Linked DNA regions of Homo sapiens: regions 1, 3 and 4 are each linked to region 2. Evidence: promoter capture Hi-C in 16 types of primary human blood cells and fetal thymus (Javierre and others, 2016). All regions are on one chromosome and are shown on one strand. The core of a region is centred on a gene start or on the middle of the fragment in contact, and the rest is flanking DNA. Distances in the headings are between cores, read along the strand shown. Region 1 overlaps COPS8-DT (COPS8 divergent transcript). Region 2 holds the start of IQCA1-AS1 (IQCA1 antisense RNA 1). Region 3 overlaps COPS8-DT (COPS8 divergent transcript). Region 4 holds the start of COPS8 (COP9 signalosome subunit 8).

Region 1 (2,885 bases), core at 364-2,863, 640 kb after region 2:
CAGCTCCTCACCCTGGGCCCACAGAGAAGGCCAGCTCCTCATCCTAGGCCCACAGAGAAGGCTGGCTCCTCACCCTAGGCCACAGAGAAGGCCAGCTCCTCACCCTAGGCCCACAGAGAAGGCCAGCCCTCACCCTAGGCCACAGAGAAGGCCAGCCCTCACCCTGGGCCCACAGAGAAGGCTGGCTCCTCACCCTAGGCCACAGAGAAGGCCGGCTCCTCACCCTAGGCCCACAGAGATGGCTGCAGTATTGCAGGGAGACCCAAGCAAAGCCATCCCTGTGGCAGAGATGCTGACATTAACAACAAAGGCAGGAACTGAGACCCAGGTGGCACTCACTCATGTGGCACTCATTCCTGTGGCACTCACTCCCATGTCACTCACTCATGTGGCATTCACTCATGTGGCACTCTTGTGAGCCAGGTAGTCTTCTCCATGCTGGGCATATGATGACACATTGAACTCCTAACAATCCTGTGAGGGAAGTGCGAATAGCATCAAACCCCTCGCACAGATGAGGAGACTGTAGCAGTGAGAGATGAAGTAACTTGCCAGGCTAGCGTTCGTGGAGTTGGAATTTAAACTCGAGCAGCGTGGCTCCTGGGCTCATTCTCTTAACCCCTATGCTGTATTTTCTCATGGTATGGGGAAAGAGGAAGGAGGGAGGGAGTCAAAAGCCAGAGGCTGAGCCTGGGTTTAATTCGCTGGCAGGGCCCCCTCACACACACACCGCCAGCAGGGGAGGTGGCTCTTGTTCCATGTCCTGGCCCCAGGGCAGCAGTCCCGTGGATGGATTCTGGGCTGGGAAAAGGAGATGCAGGAGTTGCTGGAGGTATGTCTATGACTCTGTAAAGGGATGGTCTGAATTCCCTCCCAGACAGAGTGAAAGTCTCGCTGTGTGAGTGCCATGGACACAGCATGTGCACCCCTCCAGCCCAAGTGGTGTTATTGAAACAAAGGTCAGATCGTTTCCTATTTAAAAGCTTCTCCTGGCTCCCCATGTCACTCAGAAAGCTTGTTACCATGGCCCAGAGACCCCTCTGACCCCACGTTCTAACTCACCTCCCTCCACTCCCCTCACTCTGCTCCATCCTGTGGGCCCCCGAGCTCCCAGCTCAGGGCCTTTGCACATGGCGCAGCCCCTTCCTGAAACTCCCCTCCCTTGCAGAGCTGCATGGCTTACTCCTTTACTCAACACAGGTCTCTCCTCAAATGCCACCTTCTCAGGAGGTGCCTAGGACCAGCCTGTGCCAAGTCACCTTCTCCTTGCTCTGCTTCCTTTCTCCATGCACCAATGCCATGTGGAGTGCACACACTACATACAACACCTTGAGGGGTCCACACACAACACTGTGTCAGTTATACACACAACACCAGGTGGAGTCTACACACAACACTATATGGGGTATACACACAACACCATGTGGGGTCTACACACAACACCAGGTGGAGTCTACACACAACACCATGTGGAGTCTACACACAACACCATGTGGAGTCTACACACAACACTATATGGGGTATACACACAACACTGTGTGGGGTCTACACAGAACACCATATATAGTCTACACACAATACCATGTGGAGTCCACACACAACACTATATGGGGTATACACACAACACCATGTGGGGTCTACACACACCACCATGTGGGGTCTACACATGATGCCATGTGAAGTCTACACACAGCATGATGTGGAATCTACACTAACTTGTTTATTTGCTTGCTGTATATCCGCATCCCCCCCACACATCACTAGAACTTAGGTGGCACGAGGGCAGGAACTTGGATGTGTTCACTGCTGTAACCCCAAATGACTGCTGAATGAATGGAATGAATGAACACAAAGCGTCCTCCCCAGCTGCACATCTAAAGCAGGAGGAGCCCCTCTCAGTTGGCCCCTGGGGTGCCTGTATTGAGTTTCTCTCTGTGGATGCCAACCATACATGGCTGATGACGCTCCTGACAAAGCCCAGTGGAGGTTTTGGTTGCCTATTTCCCCTCTTTTTTAAGCTCTGTACCAAAATTGATTCAGATCATCAGATACAGGCACCCTGTTCCTACTTTGTTAACTTTTCTCCAAAACACTTCATAGAACCCTGAGTCAACATCCTAGCTACGGCTCCTATGGAAGTTCAAAGCAAGAAACAAAATTATGTCCACTTTTAGAATAATTATGTGAACTTTTTGTTCTTAGTAAACTGCTATAAGCTTAAAATGCATCAGCTTTCCCAAGCTTCCTATCTGGCCTGCTTACTGTGTAATTGCCATTTTTAATGGTAACATATTTTAACTGTATCACATCACTCTAGTAGAAGAGATTTGCAGCAATATTTACTTCTTTGGTCATATTGTTATCATGATGAATAAACGGGTATGGTAACATCAGAAGATTAAATTCTCTCTCTTAATGGAAAATTAACTCTGAAACCAGACATTCTAGAATTTCTGTTTCCTGGAGCAATGGTTCCTGATTTGTGGGCAGCAGAGCCCTGGGGGACACTCCAAGCCCCATCCTTCTTCAAGGAGTCTCGCAGTCATTGTAGGCGCCAAGTGCCTCCTGCATACTAACTAACAGTCTTGTGCACCAAGGCTTGACTGTCATGTAAATGTGTCCTCACAGGACTTTGAGATCAACAAGTTATGACCTCACATATGCTTTTGACAGTAGGTATTTTTCAATCAAACTGCACCTATTATCATGCAGAAGGCTCTCAAATAGCTAACCTCAAAGGGATCTGTGTGCTCTATAAAATTTAGAACAGCTTCTCCATAATTTGGAGTCTTTAGGAGAATACAATATATTCTAATGGAGATATTTATCATCAGAAGTTTACAAAGACATATGAAACAAAAGCTCAGTTGCAAGACATTAAGAGA
Region 2 (2,901 bases), core at 24-2,523:
TATTCTTTTTGTTATTGATTTCTAGTTTCATTTCATTGCAGCTGGAAGTTACTTGGAATGTTTTCAATATTCTTATATTTATTAAGACTTGTTTTGTGACTTAGCATGTGATATATCCTGGAGAATGTTCCATGCATACTCGAGAAGAATGTGTATTCTGGTGCTGTTGGGTACAATAACTGTTAGGACTATCTGGTCCCTAGTATTATTCAAGTCTGCTGTTTCCTTATTGATTTTCTGTCTGGATGATACATTCATTACTGAGAGTGGGATAGTGAGTTCTCCTACTATTATTGTATTGCTGTCTATTTCTCCCTTCAGATATGTTAATATTTACTTCATATATTTAGGTGCTTTGATTAAAGGTGTATATATAATTGTTATATCTTCCTATTGAATTGACCCTTTTATCATTAGTTAATGATCTTTTTGGTTTCTTGTGATAGTTTTTGATTTGACGTCTATTTTGTCTAAGTATAGCCATTTCTTCTCTCTTTTGCTTATTATTTGCATGAGATATCTTTTTTCCATCCCTTCACTTTCAGCCTATGTGTCCCTAAATCTGAAATGAATCACATGTATATAGCATATAGTTGGATTTTTAAAATCCATTCAGTGACTCTGTATCTTTTGATTGGTGAGTTTAATCCATATACATCTGAAGTATTTTTTGAAAGGTAAGGACTTACTTTTGCCATTTTGTTAGGTTATTTCTATTTTGAGGTTCTTTTGTTCTTCTCTGAAGTTACAAGTTGCTGTGTAACTTAACGATGTTTTGTAGTGATATACTTTGATTCTTTTCTGGTTCTGGGATCCAAAGACAGGCCCAACGCTGATTTTTGTGGGTGGGCCCACAAAAATAAAGCAGCACAATGGTTGCAGTAAATGACTTGCTATTACTACACCACAAAAGTGGAGAAAGCTGCCATAGAAGCAAGGTGCACCCAGGGTTTGTGGGAGGCCCATGGTTCTGGGGTCCAAAGACAGGCCCAGTGCTGATTTTTGTGGGTGGGCCTGGTGTCAGGGTTTGTGGGAGGCCCATGGTACTGGGTTTCACTGGCCTGGTGCTGAGCTCCATGGTGAAGTCAGATGTTCACTTCTCTGTCCCTTTCTTCCAAGATAAAACTCATGGGTCTAGGAGATCTCTCTTGGCACTAGGCTGTGTGGGCTTTGGGGTGACATGGGTAAAGTGAAACTTTCATTCTTACTCTCTTCAGTGCATCTTTTTTTTTATGATTCTGTGCTCCACCCAGGTGCTGCAGCCTCTCACCTGAATCCCAGAGCTCTTGTGAAGTTACTTTCATCTATGGATGGTTATTAAATTGGTGTTTTCAGCTTACAGTGAAAGATCTTCAGAACACCAATTCAGTTGCCTTCAGGGTTAAACCATAATATCAACACAAAATGGATCAAGAGCCAGTCATCCTAAAAAGACCACATGCATGGCCCCTGATCTAGCAAAAGTAGTCACAAATGCAGCTGAATGTGTGGAAACCTCTAAGAGAAAATGTGTGAATCACAGAAAGAGTGGCTCCAGTCATGGAACGTGGAGAAAGCTGCCACAGAAGCAAAGGCTGCCTATGCTCATGCCAGCACTGACAGGGAGAACTCTCCGCCCTCTACCTTGGGTATTCTGGCTCCAATGACAGGGCTGTCTCTGGAATGAAGGTAGAAGCAGGGGCCAAACTAAATGAACTTCAAATACCCTGATCTAACTAGCTACTCTAAACCACTGTGAGATGGATTGGTGGCAACTTACACTTCCAATTCATCCAATTCCTTTCCCTATGATTCCCTCACTCACAAAAACCTGCTCATTACCATTGGCCTCCCTTATAGATCTATGTACAGGAACAGTTGGGGGCTGTTTGGGGAATGTGCTTTGGCTCTTTTGATAGTTCCCATTCTATCAGTGGGGCTTGGGTAATATGAATCTGCAACTGACCGGGGCTGGGGAGATGTTACTCTCAGATGGTTGGGTTTATCCTATTTATGAATCCACAGGCCCAAAGGTTAAATGGTGGACCAATTAAATTTACCAAAGGCAGGCATGTTTCCCCGTGAGGTGTCCTGGCAACAGGCGGCCCTCCTGGACATGCCACAGCATGTCAGGGGCTGCTTTTCATGACTGAATCCGCTCCACCGCACCCCTCTGCAGGCTCCTTCCCCACTCACCTTGTCCTTTTTCTTTCCTGCTTTCACTGGGCGCTCCCTTTCTCTGTCCACAGCTAGCTTTAAGTTTTTAAGTTCCTGTCTCATCAACTCATCAACCTAGGAGAATACAAAACATACTACTTTTAAGTCACTTTGCATGTCTTGTGTTTTGTTTGTGAAGTTTAAAAATCCCTTAAATTATGGGGTAGGTCATTAGTAGGAAATTGTAAAGAAGCACAATGGTTGAAGTAAATGATTTGCTGTTACTACACCATAAACGTAGCTGTACCTGTATCCTGATCTCTGACTGTAATTCTTTTCGTTTCTCCTCTTTGATCAGTTCTGGATCATAGTCCTGAGAGAAATTCCAAGACTCATCTTTTTTCATCCAGATTTCTACACTCCAGAAGGGTAAAGAAAAAGAAAAAGAAAAAATTTTAAAAAGATATAGGTTAATGAAATTTTAAAAAGACGTAGGTTAATTGTAAGTTATTGCAATATAAACATAAGCCTAACTTTATATGTTATTGCATAGGATAAAAGTTTGAATAAAATAAGCTGGACAGATGAGATTCATATATGTGCTTGTAAATGCACTAAAAAAAGAAAAAAAACTGCTGATGTAAAAATATTGAGTTTTAGTTTACTCAATATTTTTTAAGTGTGATACAATAGTATTCTACTGTATTATTATAATCATGTAAAAACAATATGTTAATGCTGGGATTATACAATCACAGATGACCT
Region 3 (2,897 bases), core at 168-2,667, 670 kb after region 2:
AACAACTTGGAGGTTGGACATCATTATCCCTACTGCAGGCAGTGACCACTCTACAAATGTTGGTTGCCATCCGCTGATCTTGACGCCTACGACGGATTCGCCTGGTAACTCCATCCACACTTAAGTTGGGAAAGCACTCCGCCCTGCCTCTAAGTCCGGGGACTCTGGGCAGGGTCCATTACATGACCTGGGTCTAAGCCAATCAGAGCATCTCACTACCGTCTCCACAGTGATTGGTCCACGTGGGCACATGACACTGCCGGGGCTGGGACTCCCCAAAAAGAGAGTCTCCCTTCTTCCTGCTGGACTAGCCTGAGACGATGCGAGGCTATCGCTGCCGCAGTACCGGGCGGAGGGCCTGTCTGAGAGGGAGCCAACCTCGAGGAAACTGGGTCAACAATGGACAACGAGACACCAGCTGTGTGACTTCACGTGAGCCCACGCAGGAAGCCTGCCTGCAGCCGGGACCCTATCTTGGCCCATAGCATCGGGGCTTCTCAGGGAAGCACTGGGGTGTAAGCTTCAGCCCCAAAATGCATCCCCACCCTTGTCCCCCTCCAGGCAGAGCAGAGACCACTGGGGCCTGCTTGCTGCTCGGTGGAGCCGATGTCTTCAAGGCCGGGCTAATGTCTCACCGGCCTCTCGGTTCCTTCCAGCTCCACTGACAGAAAGAAAGCAGATTAGATTACCGGGCGAGGTAATCCTAAGCTTTAGAGGTTCTTTTGAGGAACCTGCCACAAAGGCCAACCAGAATCCTTATTACACAAACCAGCAACTGACCTCCCTTTAGGAGAACAGGGCTCTATGATAGGAGCAATTACATTTAAATTCTGCAGTGAGATTGCTATTTAACAAAACAGCAAAATCATCAAAATCCTATAATTGTATGCATAATGCCACTTTGGCCTACTCACTTTCTGTAAAGAACTTTATTTTCCCATCCCATAATTAATATCAGTATCATATTCCATTGAAGACCATCTGTTTTACCAGAGCTATGTTATCAATCATCTCAAATTTCAGAACTTCACCCTGGTTTGTCCCCTTGATAGGGAAGTGAAAACATTGTATCAACAGTCATCTAAGCTGGCATGTGTGTGAGTGGGCCACAGGATTTGCTGGTGGATATCAGAAAAGTCATTTAACACAAAGTTCTGCTTATAGACTATTGCAAAATAAGTAGCTCCAAAAGGAAATTATTATGTTTGTAAAAACATGAGCACTTTCCTCTTCCTTTGGGCAAGGGTACGACGTTTTACTATCCACCCAAATTATGTTCACCAATGATTGAACTCTTCAAAGAATTCAAATCATGTGGATTTGAGCCTTCTGGGAAGGAAAACGAAATGCACCTTGACTTCACAGGCTGGAGGGCTGGGTGTGACAGGGCCCTCCAGAGAGCCTCGGGACAGAACCTCAGCAGATGGTGGCAGCTGAAGACACAGGTCAGTTCTCAGATTAACCAGACACCTCCCACCAGTCCATTCCTGCCTGTGGATGCCCTCCTGAGAACCAACTTCCAACCAGAAGGTCATTGTGGGTGGTACAGAGTGGGAATGAAGGACTTACATGATGTTTTTTGTTTTGTTTTGTTTTGTTTTGTTTTGAGATGGAGTCTTGCTCTGTCACCCAGGCTGGAGTGCAGTGGTGTGATCTCAGCTCACTGCAGCTTCCACCTCCTGGGTTCAAGCGATTCTCCTGCCTCAGCCTCCTAAGTAGCTGGGACTACAGGCACGCACCACCATGCCCAGCTAATTTTTGTATTTTTAGAAGAGACAGGGTTTCACCATGTTGGCCAGGATGGTCTCAGTCTCCTGACCTCATGATCCTCCCACCTTGGCCTCCCAAAGTGCTCGGATTATAGGCATGAGCCACCATGCCCTGCCAGGACTTACATGATCTTAAAGGCCCCCACCACATTCCTTACCCCTGGCCAGGAGAGTCAGGGGCTTTTCTGTCTTCCCTCAGGGTTACACTTGCCAAAGAGACCATTATTTCAATGTCCTTGACCATGATACCTCAAGACATTCTTGCATGAGTTGAGGCTCAGAAAACAGTACCCCAAAATATGGCACTTTGGTATGCTGAGGGTTTTTGAGTTAAAGGAAATTAAAAGGCCTCAAAAATAAGCTTTAGAACTAAGGTCTTTCTCCAGTCTCCTTTCAACCCCCTGTCTAGTCTATCTGATCCTCTTTCTTTCCTGAAGTACCAGCAAGGACTCTTTCTGCAATTTCTTTATCTAAGTTTTACCACTGCGCCTGGCTAGAGATGTAATTGTCTTAAGACACTCTTCCTAGGAATCTCATCAAATAACCAGGAAAGATTAACTACTGGAGAAGAGAAAAGACTGGGAATCATCACCATGCCAGACAGACTTTTCACCTATTCGTCTGAGGACAGCTCCAAGAGATGACCTGGGAGACTTTACCTGCATAAGAAGACAACCTTTGTTCACAGCGTAGTTCTGCCCCTCACCCTCCTGCCACCTGCCCCAGAACTCAGAGGAACTTTGTCCCAGGCTATTATCTATTCTTTGGGCTCACTCATTTTCCTTAGAAATCATTTACTACCCCTCTAAAATTTCCTACAGTCCCCCACTTCCCTGTCTCCTATGAAGAGGATATATAAGCCTCAACCATCTGGCCCTTCTTTGAGTCTCCTATTTGTAGGACTCCCATGGCCATATGCACCTTAATAAATGTGTAAGCCATTTTTCTCCTATGAATCTGTCTATTGTCAGTCACTTCAGTGAAACTTCAGAGAGGGTGGAAGGAATGCTTTCTCTCCACCCCTACAGATGCACTGGCCATATTCCATATCTTTCCTCATCTTTCATATAATATCTGAGAGAGAAGGTAGAAGTTGTCAGTCCTTTTAGAGACTAGTTTTCTTAAAGA
Region 4 (3,176 bases), core at 621-3,120, 700 kb after region 2:
TGAGGGATGGGAAGGGCCCTAGATTTTAGGGCGTTGTGCAGAAGAGTAACCAGATCTGCTCTACGTTTCAGGAAAGGAAAAAAAAATTCCCTCTGGCTGCGGTTCCGAGAATAGCCTGGAAGGAGGCAGGGGTCCCGGCTGGAGAAGCGTGGCTCCGGGGTGGGGCGTGCAGGGCTAGCCCGGGCGGGGGACGCTGCCCAACAAGCAGGTTTGCGGAGACTCACACCTTAGATTCTGAGTTTTTAAGCTTGTTTCCTCAGAGCAGGGAACTCACGAACGTTTCGTGAGCACCTACGGTATGCAGGGTACGGTGCGGAGCCCTAGCGTCACTGACGACCGGGACAGCCGAGCAGCTGCAGGATCCGTCGTGTTCCCCAGCAATTTTAATATTTAAAAATTCGTTACTGTTGCTGTTACTTGTTTTCTATGTATTGGATGTCTTCGTGAAGAACCCTCAAAAGTGCAACGAACTCCTCCCTGCCAGAGGGCGGCCGCGCGCTCTGAGTACAGCTTCCCGCGGAGCCGGCCAGGTCCTCCAGGGCACCGAGAAAGCCGGCCAGAACGGCGGCGCCCTATCCCGGCCGCAGCGATGTCTGACGGCGCCCCGGAACTGACGGTCTGGTACGCAGGGGCGCTCGGCGGCAACGGCGGCTTTAAACGTCATCGCGGGCGCGACGCCTGAGGGACAGTCTGGGGTTTGGCTGTCCGGACGGTGCAGCGGCGAGGCCGGCCGCGAAGATGCCAGTGGCGGTGATGGCGGAAAGCGCCTTTAGTTTCAAAAAGTTGCTGGATCAGTGCGAGAACCAGGAGCTCGAGGTAACCCTTTGCGTCGCGCTGGGAGAAACTGCGGAGTAGTCTTAGGCCCTGGGGCGGCACCAGTTTCCAGGGTAACGGGGTCTGAGGCTAGCGGGCTTTGGGAGCTCACGGGGCGGGCGTGGGAGGTGGACGTGTGGATCCCTGACCGCCGCAACCTGCTCCGACCGGGCCCGGTCTCCCCGAACTCGCCGGGACCTTTTTGTTATGTGTCTTCAGCTTGTGAGCCCGAAAACCCTGTGCGTCTTTGCTCCAGCACCTACCGATGAGCTCATATTAATTAGGCATCTTTCCTTCCCAGTATCGGGTTGGGAGAGGGTAGTAAAGTGGGTTTTATTAAAGATCTTGGTATACACACACACACTAACACACACACCGCAACTCACACGCACACCAAGAAAAATGTGACCATTGTAACCTTTTTTTAACTCACAAAGCCTTTCTCGTAATGTTGTCAAGTTAGCTTGCCATTTTGTCTTCAGTAAGACAGATGAAAGTTATGCAGCTGTTAAAGTTAATGTTTTTCTTAGACACTTAAAAAGGGTTTATATCATTAGTTTTAAAATTAAATAAAGGAGACAACATCCAGAAGCAGCAGCTCACTAATAGATAATAGATACTTTCCAGTTGAGTTAAAATGGAAAGAATTGTCTTTGCAACGCAGCTGTGGTGATTTTCTGTCTCTTATTCAGGACGCTTGATGTAATGGGCAGAATCAGAATGCTTCAGGAATCTGTCGAATTTGTTTCTTATAATAGTAAGATCATTTAAATGGGAATTTGAGAACTGGGGAAGGGGATCCACTTACATATTCTTGAATGTATAAAGAAACTGAAGCCCAAAGGGAGATAAATCAAAGCTGATGACGAATATAAACTTAATACTCAGAATTTTCGTGTTTGATACTTCTCTAAGCTGTTTCTAAATCTATAATAGGACTATAAGATTACTTATAGTCTTAGACTAAAAAGGCTTACTTTTAAAATTAGCATTTATAAAATATTATTTTAAAAATGAAAGTTAAAGGGTAAATGAGGTTTTTAAAATTTTGTGTTGTTTTGTTTTGTTTTCATTTTTGGCCTTCTAGGCCCCTGGAGGAATTGCTACACCCCCAGTGTATGGTCAGCTTCTAGCTTTATATTTGCTCCATAATGACATGTAAGTATGTTTAACCTAAAGCTAAGAGCAACAGGTTTCTCAAAGTTATATGGAAATATTTCTGCACTGAAGTAGCACCACTAAACATAGGCACAACGAGCTACCTTTTTTATTACAGTAATTGTTAACGTCTATTTCCTATTGAATCATAGGTTAATGAATTATGATTAGGTCGTCATTGTCTTACATATACTTTCTAGAAAACATTTCAATTTATTATGACAAATTACGTCAGTAAATTCATTTAACCTTTTTGTCTTTTTAAGAAACTTTTATGACCTCTATTTACTTAACTTCATATATAATCAATAAAACAAAAGAAGTGAAAAGAGAAGATTGCAGCCAAGAGGAATTCGTTACAAACATGTATGAGATTTTTTAAGTTTTTTTTGTTTTTAATTATTCCTATTTCACGTTCACATGGAAAAGTCAGAAAGCATAACTACTCTAGGCCGGGCGCCGTGGCACACGCCTGTAATCCCAGCACTCTGGGAGGCCAAGGCAAGTGGATGGCTTGAGTCCAGGAGTTTTGATACCAGCCTGGGGAATATAGTGAAACCCCGTCTGTCCTAAAAATACAAAAAATTAGCTGGGCATGGTTGCGTGTGCCTCTAATCCCAGCTACCTGGGAGGCTGAGGTGGGGAGAATCACCTGAGCCCAGAAAGTCAAGGCTGCAGTGAGCTAAGATTGCGCGACTGCACTCTAGCCTGAGCAACCAAAGTGAGACCCTGTCTCAAAAGGAAAGCATAACTGCAAAAAAAAAAAAAAAAAGTCTCCTATAGTTCTGTGACTCACTGATGATTCCTGATAACATTTTATTTTAAACTCTTCCAAAACCTTTCTTTTATATCTTTTTAAAAACTAAATTGAAATTTTTATTACACATATGTAAGGTTTTTGTTTTTGTTTTGTAAAACTGTCATTATATGTTTGTTGTAGTTCAAGCCTCCAAACCCATAAAAACTCCTGCCTCAGAAGCTGTGTCCCACTGGTAGGAGGGGCTGTAATCGGGAGAGAAGTGTTGTGTACCAGGCTTATTGTCAGGGAATGCTACAGCCTTGATAGTACATAAATTTGTTTACTTTTATATCCTAATAAATAATTTGGGCCGTCTATAAATCCTCGTGTTTTTAGTGTGCTGTTGCCTAAATTTAGGATATGGATTATTATTTTTAAAAAATTCACTAGAAATGGCAAAATATTA

What was found. The method cuts DNA at HindIII sites, captures the fragments that hold promoters and counts their contacts. A CHiCAGO score of 5 or more calls a contact.
Region 1: a fragment that was not itself captured here is called in contact with the fragment with the promoter of IQCA1-AS1 in region 2 in 3 of 17 cell types (M0 macrophages, activated CD4 T cells and M1 macrophages); the score reaches 6.6 in M0 macrophages.
Region 3: a fragment that was not itself captured here is called in contact with the fragment with the promoter of IQCA1-AS1 in region 2 in 7 of 17 cell types (M2 macrophages, M0 macrophages, neutrophils and 4 more); the score reaches 8.0 in M2 macrophages.
Region 4: a contact is called between a fragment that was not itself captured here and the fragment with the promoter of IQCA1-AS1 in region 2, in 1 of 17 cell types (neutrophils). The highest score is 5.5, in neutrophils.

The regions. Positions count from the first base shown.
Region 1 is chr2:237,031,164-237,034,048 of GRCh38, forward strand. All of the region lies in intron 1 of COPS8-DT (COPS8 divergent transcript), which reads right to left. Among named protein-coding and RNA genes, the nearest start is that of COPS8-DT, 53 kb to the right of the region's middle. The HindIII fragment of the contact is 1,202 bases long and covers 1,013-2,214 here.
Region 2 is chr2:236,389,801-236,392,701 of GRCh38, forward strand. IQCA1-AS1 (IQCA1 antisense RNA 1) reads left to right here and starts at 1,274. Exons shown (of 2, transcript NR_174961.1): 1 at 1,274-1,668; 2 at 2,495-2,576. DRC11 (dynein regulatory complex subunit 11) reads right to left here. Exons shown (of 19, transcript NM_024726.5): 10 at 2,444-2,550; 11 at 2,176-2,271. RefSeq lists an enhancer at 1,594-2,793. The HindIII fragment of the contact is 7,674 bases long and covers 1-2,901 here.
Region 3 is chr2:237,064,092-237,066,988 of GRCh38, forward strand. The region is part of intron 1 of COPS8-DT (COPS8 divergent transcript); the gene reads right to left. It overlaps LOC105373950 (a long non-coding RNA gene), which reads left to right. Exons shown (of 3, transcript XR_007088140.1): 1 at 1-697; 2 at 1,366-1,445; 3 at 2,298-2,725. Among named protein-coding and RNA genes, the nearest start is that of COPS8-DT, 20 kb to the right of the region's middle. The HindIII fragment of the contact is 1,422 bases long and covers 707-2,128 here.
Region 4 is chr2:237,085,227-237,088,402 of GRCh38, forward strand. COPS8 (COP9 signalosome subunit 8) reads left to right here and starts at 663. Exons shown (of 8, transcript NM_006710.5): 1 at 663-816; 2 at 1,901-1,971. The coding sequence starts at 739. COPS8-DT (COPS8 divergent transcript) reads right to left here and starts at 595. Exons shown (of 3, transcript NR_187934.1): 1 at 1-595. RefSeq lists enhancers at 1-603, 244-793, 604-1,498. The HindIII fragment of the contact is 3,251 bases long and covers 246-3,176 here.